Regions from separate parts of the Homo sapiens genome. Here region 1 is linked to region 2. The links are contacts of gene promoters, found by promoter capture Hi-C in human tissues and cell types (Jung and others, 2019). All regions are on one chromosome and are shown on one strand. Each heading gives the region's core, a stretch centred on a gene start or on the middle of the fragment in contact. The rest is flanking DNA. Distances are from core to core; before and after follow the strand shown.

The links. The method cuts DNA at HindIII sites, captures the fragments that hold promoters and counts their contacts. A contact is called where the count stands out against the background at its distance.
Region 1: a fragment that was not itself captured here is called in contact with the fragment with the promoter of INTS2 in region 2 in 1 of the 25 tissues and cell types used here (mesenchymal stem cells).

The regions. Positions count from the first base shown.
Region 1 is chr17:61,512,994-61,516,961 of GRCh38, reverse strand. No RefSeq gene overlaps it. Among named protein-coding and RNA genes, the nearest start is that of TBX4, 63 kb to the right of the region's middle. RefSeq lists an enhancer at 2,274-2,774. The HindIII fragment of the contact is 4,645 bases long and covers 337-3,968 here.
Region 2 is chr17:61,925,358-61,929,414 of GRCh38, reverse strand. INTS2 (integrator complex subunit 2) reads left to right here and starts at 1,433. Exons shown (of 25, transcript NM_001351695.2): 1 at 1,433-1,761; 2 at 2,753-3,063. The coding sequence starts at 2,771. RefSeq lists a silencer at 1,303-1,402. The HindIII fragment of the contact is 16,998 bases long and covers 1-4,057 here.

The sequences.
Region 1 (3,968 bases), core at 1,410-3,909, 410 kb after region 2:
GGCTGGAGTGCAAAGGCATGATCACAGCTCACTGCAGCCTCAACTTCCCCGGGTTCGAGCGATCCTCCCACCTCAGCCTCCCTAGTAGCTGAGACTACAGGTGCATGCCACCATGCCCAGCTAATTTTTGTATTTTTTTTGTAGAGACAAGGTTTTACCATGTTGTCCAGGCTGGTCTGCAACTCCTGGACTCAAGCAATCTGCTCACCTTGGCCTCCCAGAGGGCTGGGATTACAGATGTGAGCCACCACGCCCAGCCATATCTGCTTTTGAATGTGGTTTTTTTCTTACTATCAAGCTGCCATCTGCCTCTTCTCACTGTAGTCAGTGCACTTGCTCACAAAATCCTCCCTCATCTTTTAATTTGCTACTTCTTTCTAATTAGCTCTAGGCTTAGGAACCAGACAACTGTGACTCACAAGTTCTATGTGAGGGTTTTAGACTAGCTATATGAGTAAAATAAATCATCATATACCTTGGGTTCATACTTTGCAACACAAGTCTTGATTATTCAGATAAAGTTTTGGAAAGCAGTGTGGTGCAGTGGAAAGAATATGAGTTTTGGAATCAGACAGACCCAAATCTGCATCTTAACTCCTCTACTTGTTAGCTGTGTCATCTTGGGCAAGTTGTTCAATCTCTCTGAACCTCAGATTCATCATCTGATAGAGTAAATAAGACTGATATCATACAGTTACAAAGATTAAGTGAGGAAATATATATAAAGTATATAACAGAGTTCTAGACACATAGCAGGTGATACATAAAGCTTCATTCTCTCTCTTTACTTAACCCTTCATTTTCCCTTTCTTCCTGGTTTATAGCTGTGTTTCTGGAGAGACTGAGCTCTGACTGGCTCAGGGGAGATATATGGCCTAAAATATGGAATGTATTAGGAAAGGAATAATGGTGAGACCATAGGAGTCTGAGATCATGAGAAGCTGAGAGACAGAGTACGGCTATAATTTCTTACCAGTAAAAGAAAGAGGGGCCGGGCATGGTGGTTCATGCCTGAAATCCCAGCACTTTGGAAGGCCAAGGCGGGTGGATCACCTGAGGTCAGGAGCTCGAAACCAGCCTGGCCAATATGGCGAAACCCCGTCTCTACTAAAAATGCAAAAATTAGCCAGGCACGGTGGTGGGTGCCTGTAATCCCAGCTACTTGGGAGGCTGAGGCAGGAGAATTGCTTGAACCTGAGAGGCAGAAGTTGCAGTGAGCCGAGATCACGCCACTGCACTCCAGCCTGGGTGACAGAGCGAGACTCCGTCTTTAAAAAAAAAAAAAGAAAGAGGAAAAATCCCAAGATGAGAGAGAAATTTTGTGAATGCCACAGCATAAAGAGTCATTAACACAAACCTGACCACATATAAGCAGTTGCAAGTGTGGTTCACCTTCATCAGGCACTATTCTCAGCTGTTTTGTCTTTCTTGCCAATTTTTGGCATCAAAATCCCAGCCTATAGTTGGGAGCTGGAATCCACTTGGTTCGAGTATCATGAATAGTTAAAGGATTTTGTCTGTTCGAACTCAAGACTTCATAAAGACTTTTTTAAATTTATTTTTTATTATTTATTTATTTTTTTTTTGGAGTGCGGTGGCACGACCTCAGTTCACTGCAACCTCCCAGGCTGGAGTGCAGTGGCGCGATCTCGGCTCACTGCAACCTCCGCCTCCCGGGTTCAAGCAATTCTCATGCCTCAGCTTCCCGAGTAGCTGGGACTACAGGCGTGCGCCACCATGCCCAGCTAATTTTTTATTTTTAGTAGAGACGTGGTTTCACTATATTGGCCAGGCTGGTCTCGAACTCCTGACCTCAGGTGATCCACCCACCTTGGCCTCCCAAAGTGCTGGGATTACAGGAGTGAGCCACCGTGCCTGGCCCATGAAGACTTTTAAAAGGATCTCATTGATCCTTTTAAAGGTTTGACTAAATGTATATTATATAATAAAATGTATATTATAGGACAAAATGTACATTGTAGAATAAGCTATATTTTATTATTTAATTTAAACATAAATCTCTAAACTCAACTATAATCATCAGTTCTTTTATACAATCATACAGTTTCAATATTAAGCACCAATCATTTTACACTAAATAACTGGTGGGTTGTCTCTCTCCTGGTCCGACTCTTTTGTTGTGTACATTGACTGCTGACTTTCTGAGCTCCATGCTGTCTTATGTTCCTACTGGTCTACCTTGTCCAGATGCTTTTAACTATTTACAGAAAATTCTCAGCTTCTCTGTCTGCAGTTGCTGAGAGTTTGGTCTGTGATTGCAGTCCTTCGAACTGTATTTCCATAGCACTAGCAAAATTGTTCCCCATCTGCTCCTGAACAGAACCATTTAAAGCTGTTACAAATGAAAGTTCACTTTCTTTCACTCTCCGCCCTGCAAAATACATGCCACAGCCACTCTCTCTCGCACAGCTTTGATATCTGTTAGTCTCTTGCTTTTTTTTTTATCTTCTCTCCATTTCTCTGTTTCCTTTTTTTTTTTTTAGGAAGAGAACAGAACAACCTGAAAAAGTCTTCTCCAACGTGCAGAAGAAATGACAGTTCTTGGGTTACATCACACCTTCCTTTGTGACTGTAGCAAACTAGAGTTTTGTTACTTAATTATTTCATGCCCACATTTACGTGGGGGTTAGATATCTAAGCAAATTAGAAAGACTTTCTTTTTTTTTTTTTGAGACGGAGTCTGTCGCCCAGGCTGGAGTGCAGTGGCGCAATCTCGGCTCACTGCAACCTCCGCCTCCCGGGTTCACGCCATTCTCCTACCTCAGCCTCTGGAGTAGCTGGGACTGCAGGCGCCCGCCACCAAGCCCGGCTAATTTTTTTGTATTTTTAGTAGAGACGGGGTTTCACCGTGTTAGCCAGGATGGTCTGGATCTCCTGACCTCATGATCCGCCTGCCTCGGCCTCCCAAAGTGCTGGGATTACACGTGTGAGCCACCTTGCCCGGCCCCATGAAACACTTAAGCAGCTTCCATTATTTTTATGCTGTTTTACTCTGTTGTTTTGCAAGTAAATTCTGACCATGGATGGAAAGGTATTATGAGAATCTCCAAGAAAAAGAAAATTACTGAAGCTAAAATTGGAGAAAGTATAAAAGAAAGAGGAATTAAGTTAGAAAACTCAATTTAATTCCATTTTAAAACTAATATGCTCAGCTGGGCGTGGTGGCTCACGCCTGTAATCCCAACACTTTGGGAGGCCGAGGCGGGTGGATCACCTGGGGTCAGGAGTTCAAGACCAGTCTGGCCAACATGGTGAAACCCTGTCTCTACTAAAAATTCAAAAATTAGCCAAGCTTGGTGGTGGGCACCTGTAATCCTAGCTACTCGGGAGGCTGAGGCATGAGAATTGCTTGAACCTGGGAGGGGGAGGTTGCAGTGAGCTGAGGCTGCATTATTGTACTCCAGCCTGGGCGACAAGGGCGACAAGAGTGAAACTCTGTCGCAAAAAAAAAAAAGAAAAAAAAATGCTCATTGGAGCCTCACTTGTACTAACTCCAAGTTACATGTTCTGGAGTCCTTAGTGATAAAGAAATGGAATACACTTTCTTTAAATAATGAGTCATTTTTTTGAAGGTATAAAATCAGTCTTTTAAAATTAAGAACCCATAAGGTAATGAGGACTCCACTTTTTTTTTGAAATTTTTTATTTTTATACAGAGTCTTGCTCTGTCACCCAGGCTGGAGTGCAGTTGCGTGATCTCGACTAACTGCAACCTCAGCCTCCCAGGTTCAAGCAATTCTCGTGCCTCAGCCTCCCAAGTAGCTGGGATTACAGAGGTATGCCACCATGCCCAGCTAATTTTTGTACTTTTAGTAGAGACAGGGGTTCACCATATTGGCCAGGCTGGTCTTGAACTCCTGGCCTCAAGTGATCTGCCTGCCTTGACCTCCCAAAGTGCTGGGATTACAGGCATGGGTCACTGCACCCGGCCAAGGACTTCACTATTA
Region 2 (4,057 bases), core at 184-2,683:
TTCCTTTGCTGATCTATGTTGAAAGTCATATATATATATATATTTTTGAGATGGAGTCTGGCTCTGTTGCCCAGGCTGGAGTGCGGTGGCATGATCTCTGCTCACTGAAACATCTGCCTCCTAGGTTCAAGTGATTTTCCTGTCTCAGCCTCCGAAGTAGCTGGGACTACAGGTGCTCCATCACCACGCTGGGGTAATTTTTTTTTTTTTTTTTTTTTTTTGAGACGGAGTTTCGCTCTTATTGCCTAGGCTGGAGTGCAATGGCACGATCTCAGCTCACCACAACCTCCGCCTCCCAGGTTCAAGCAATGCTCCCGCCTCAGCCTCCCAAGTAGCTGAGATTACAGGCGCACACCACCACGCCTGGCTAATTTTTGCATTTTTAGTAGAGGCGGAGTTTCACCATGTTGGTCAGGCTGGTCTCGAACTCCTGGCCTCGTGATCTGCCTGCCTCGGCCTCCCAAAGTGCTAGGATTACAGGCATGAGCCATCGTGCTCGGCCTAATTTTTATATTTTTTGTAGAGTTGGGGTTTAGTCATGTTGCGTCAGGCTGGTCTCGAACTCCTGACCTCAGGTGATCCGCCCGCCTCGGCTTCCCAAAGCGCTGGGATTACAGGCATGAGACACCACGCCCGGCTCTGACTTTATTTTTAAAGAGGTTATAAAGTGCTATATCTTTGTAAAATATTTTTATTTCCAGCTCCTAGCACAATATCTGGTAAATAGAAGTTGCCAAATAAACGTTGATCGAACTAGGAACAATAAATAGTATGAAGACATATGGACTAGCGGTTCTTCATATATAGACTAGTGGTTCTTTTCTGAGTGATCAGACTTCCTTTGAGAAGTTGTTGAAAGTTTTGGACCCTCTTCCCAGAAGAAGTGCCGAGCACTCAGTTCTGAACGGATTCCAGAGAATTCCTGAATCCCCGTGCATTGCCTCTCTAAGGTTCTATGGGTCCCCCAAGTTAAGAACCTGAAAGGAAGGTGTTTAACTTCTGACAGCGGAGGTGTGAGGTCAAGAGCGGAAGAAAGTTTGGGGTTAGATCACTTTTAAAATTCTCCCACAAATCCTGGGATTCTAGAATTTTGGTTCTGGGAAGGCACAGGCAAAGATTTAAAGAGTACAGTTTGGTACCACTAGTGTCAAAGAATAGTGGGAACGATTTTAACACACGTTATGCCATTTGAATGCCATGGCAATCCTGTGATGATGAAATTTAAGTTCTGAGGGGCTCAGTGGCTTGCTTGTCTAAAAGGAAGGAGCTGGTAGGCTCTGGAAATCAGAGCCTACCAGAATCACATTTCTAAATTTTTGGCGAACAAGTAGGGCAGGGCAAATAAAGTGGAGAAAGGGGCGGGGCCGCGCACGCGCACAGTTGCATTGGCGCCGACGTCTCTGCCTTTCCTCTCGCAGCCACCCTTCCTCTCAGACCAGTACGGTGGCCGACGGGAGTCAGACGCTGGGGATGAATGAAGGTGCTGGGTGCAGGTTGAAAAAGTCTCCCGCTTTTCCGTTCCTACAGTCCCGGTTCTGCCTTTGTGTGGTGCCCCCATCCTTCCCACTTTGTATCGACAACCCGGTTGGTCCCGGCGTCTGAGTTCTTGGTGTCCGAGTCGACTCGAGGCACAACTAGGGTTTGGGGTTCCGGATATCGCCTAGGCCCAACATCGGACCGCGCTCTCGATTTCTGCCGCGTCCCGCCTCTAGGACGCGGAGTCCGTGTGCGGTTCCGTGAGGCTGGAGGGTAGATCTTAAGGTATGAAGCGTCCGCTTCTCTGGCCTCAGCGCGTTCCTAGGTCCGTGTCGGAGCCTGGCCAGACTTTGCTCAGCCTGAGGGACTTATTGGTTCTAGTTGCGCCCGGGGCGAGACGGAGGAGCACGCAGGTCTTGGCTCCTCTGCTCCAGTCAGCCCGCCCCTCTGTTAAAAGAGCAGCCCCTCCCTGAAAGCAAAGCAGTTTTTACCCACGACTTTTACCCACGCTGCTGCTAGTCGGTCGGCCTTGAGAGGGGACTGCTTTGGCTGCCAGCTCACTGCCTTTTTGTTTACTTTTTGTGCCTTGGATGATTCCTGGAGACAGAGAAGTGCGCTAATGAGACGCGTCTTTCTCACATAGCACCCACACATCTGCTTTTTACCCGGTAACACAGGGGACATAGGATAGTGTTGTGGCCTCCAGAGCCTTGAATCTGGCATTGGTTCTGCCCAGTGATTTGCTAGTTTTTCCACCGACTCATGGAGGGTGAGAAAGAGAAGCCCAATAGTTCTTGATGTATATCGGGGTAGGCATGTGAAACTATCGGGGTATGAAAGAAAGCACTTAACTATGACCATTCACTTTTGTTTACATTTTGTGGAGCTCATGTGACTGATATAGTGGAGAAAGTCTTGGACTGGGATTTTAGTAGATGAGGATTCAGCCTTGGATTGTGCCTCTAACTAGTAATACTATTTTGGGCGTGTTACTTCATCTCTCTGGGCTTCATATTCCTTCTTTGTAAAATATGAGTATTAGAGCAGAAGATTCCTGAGGCTGGAAGAGACATTAATATACTCTGTTTTCTTTCCCATTTCCCAGGTGACAGTATAAACCTAGGGAGACAGAGAAGCCTTGTCTTGATTGTGCCAGGAACATTGCCAACATAGGGACCTATTAAAGATACACCACATTTTTCAGGGTTTTTAGAAAGTTGGGTGTTCATACATGTGAAAGTTAAACTCCTACTTTCATTTGTATTTTTACCATTAGGATCAACAAACAGTAATAATGACTGAATGTACAAGTCTTCAGTTTGTCAGCCCTTTTGCTTTTGAGGCAATGCAGAAGGTGGATGTTGTTTGCCTGGCATCTTTAAGTGATCCAGAATTAAGACTTCTTCTGCCCTGTTTGGTACGGATGGCACTTTGTGCACCTGCTGACCAGAGCCAAAGCTGGGCTCAGGATAAGAAACTCATCCTTCGCCTTCTTTCTGGAGTGGAAGCTGTCAACTCCATTGTTGCATTGTTGTCCGTGGACTTTCATGCTTTAGAACAAGATGCCAGCAAAGAACAGCAGCTTAGGTAATGTTATGTTATATTATATGTGGATTTGGATTTGACAAAGAACAGGGAATCAGATATTTTTTAGAGCTCTCCAGAAAAGAGAGAATGAGAATCTAAATTCTGGAGAGCATTTTACTTAGGTCTTTTCTGTATATAGTTACAGTTCCAGAATCTTTTGACTTCCATGTTATAAAATGTTATCTAGAGAAATATGGCAATGTGCTGTTGTATGTGGGCTAAACTCATTAGGCCAATTACTTTCAGTGGGAAGTAGGTAGGGTAACTTCCCCTAGATTAGAGGGATTTATTGGAATCACTTGGGAGGCTTTTTTTTTTCTTTTTTGAGACAGAGTTTCGCTCTTGTTGCCCAGGCTGGAGTGCAATGGCGTGATCTTGGCTCACTGCAACCTCAGCCTCCCAGGTTCAAGCGATCCTCCTGCCTCAGCCTCCCGAGTAGCTGGGATTACAGGCACCTGCCACCATGCCCGGCTAATTTTTTGTATTTTTAGTAGAGATGGGGTTTCATCATGTTGGCCAGGCTGGTCTCCAACTCCTGGCCTCAGGTGATCCACCTGCCTTGGCCTCCCAAAGTGCTGGGATTACAAGTGTGAGCCACTGGGCCCAGCCTCTTGGGAGGCTTTTAAAGCTTAGATATTCCCAAAGATTCTGGGCAGGTGCTATGTCCTTCCCTGCCCATTGTGAATCTAGTAGCAAGCCACCATCAGTGGAAGTGAGTGTTAATTGTCAGTTGTGGTAGAGTATTTATTTATTTATTTTTATTTTTATTTTTTTTTAGACCGAGTCTTGCCCTGTTGCCCAGGCTGGAGTGCGGTGGCGTGATCTCGGCTCACTGCAACCTCCACCTCCTGGGTTCAAGTGATTCTTCTGCCTCAGTCTCCCGAGTAGATGGGACTACAGGCACGCGCCACCATGCCCGGCTTTTTTGTATTATTAGTAGAGACGAGGTTTCACCATATTGGCCAGGCTGGTCTCGAACTCCCAACCTTGTGAT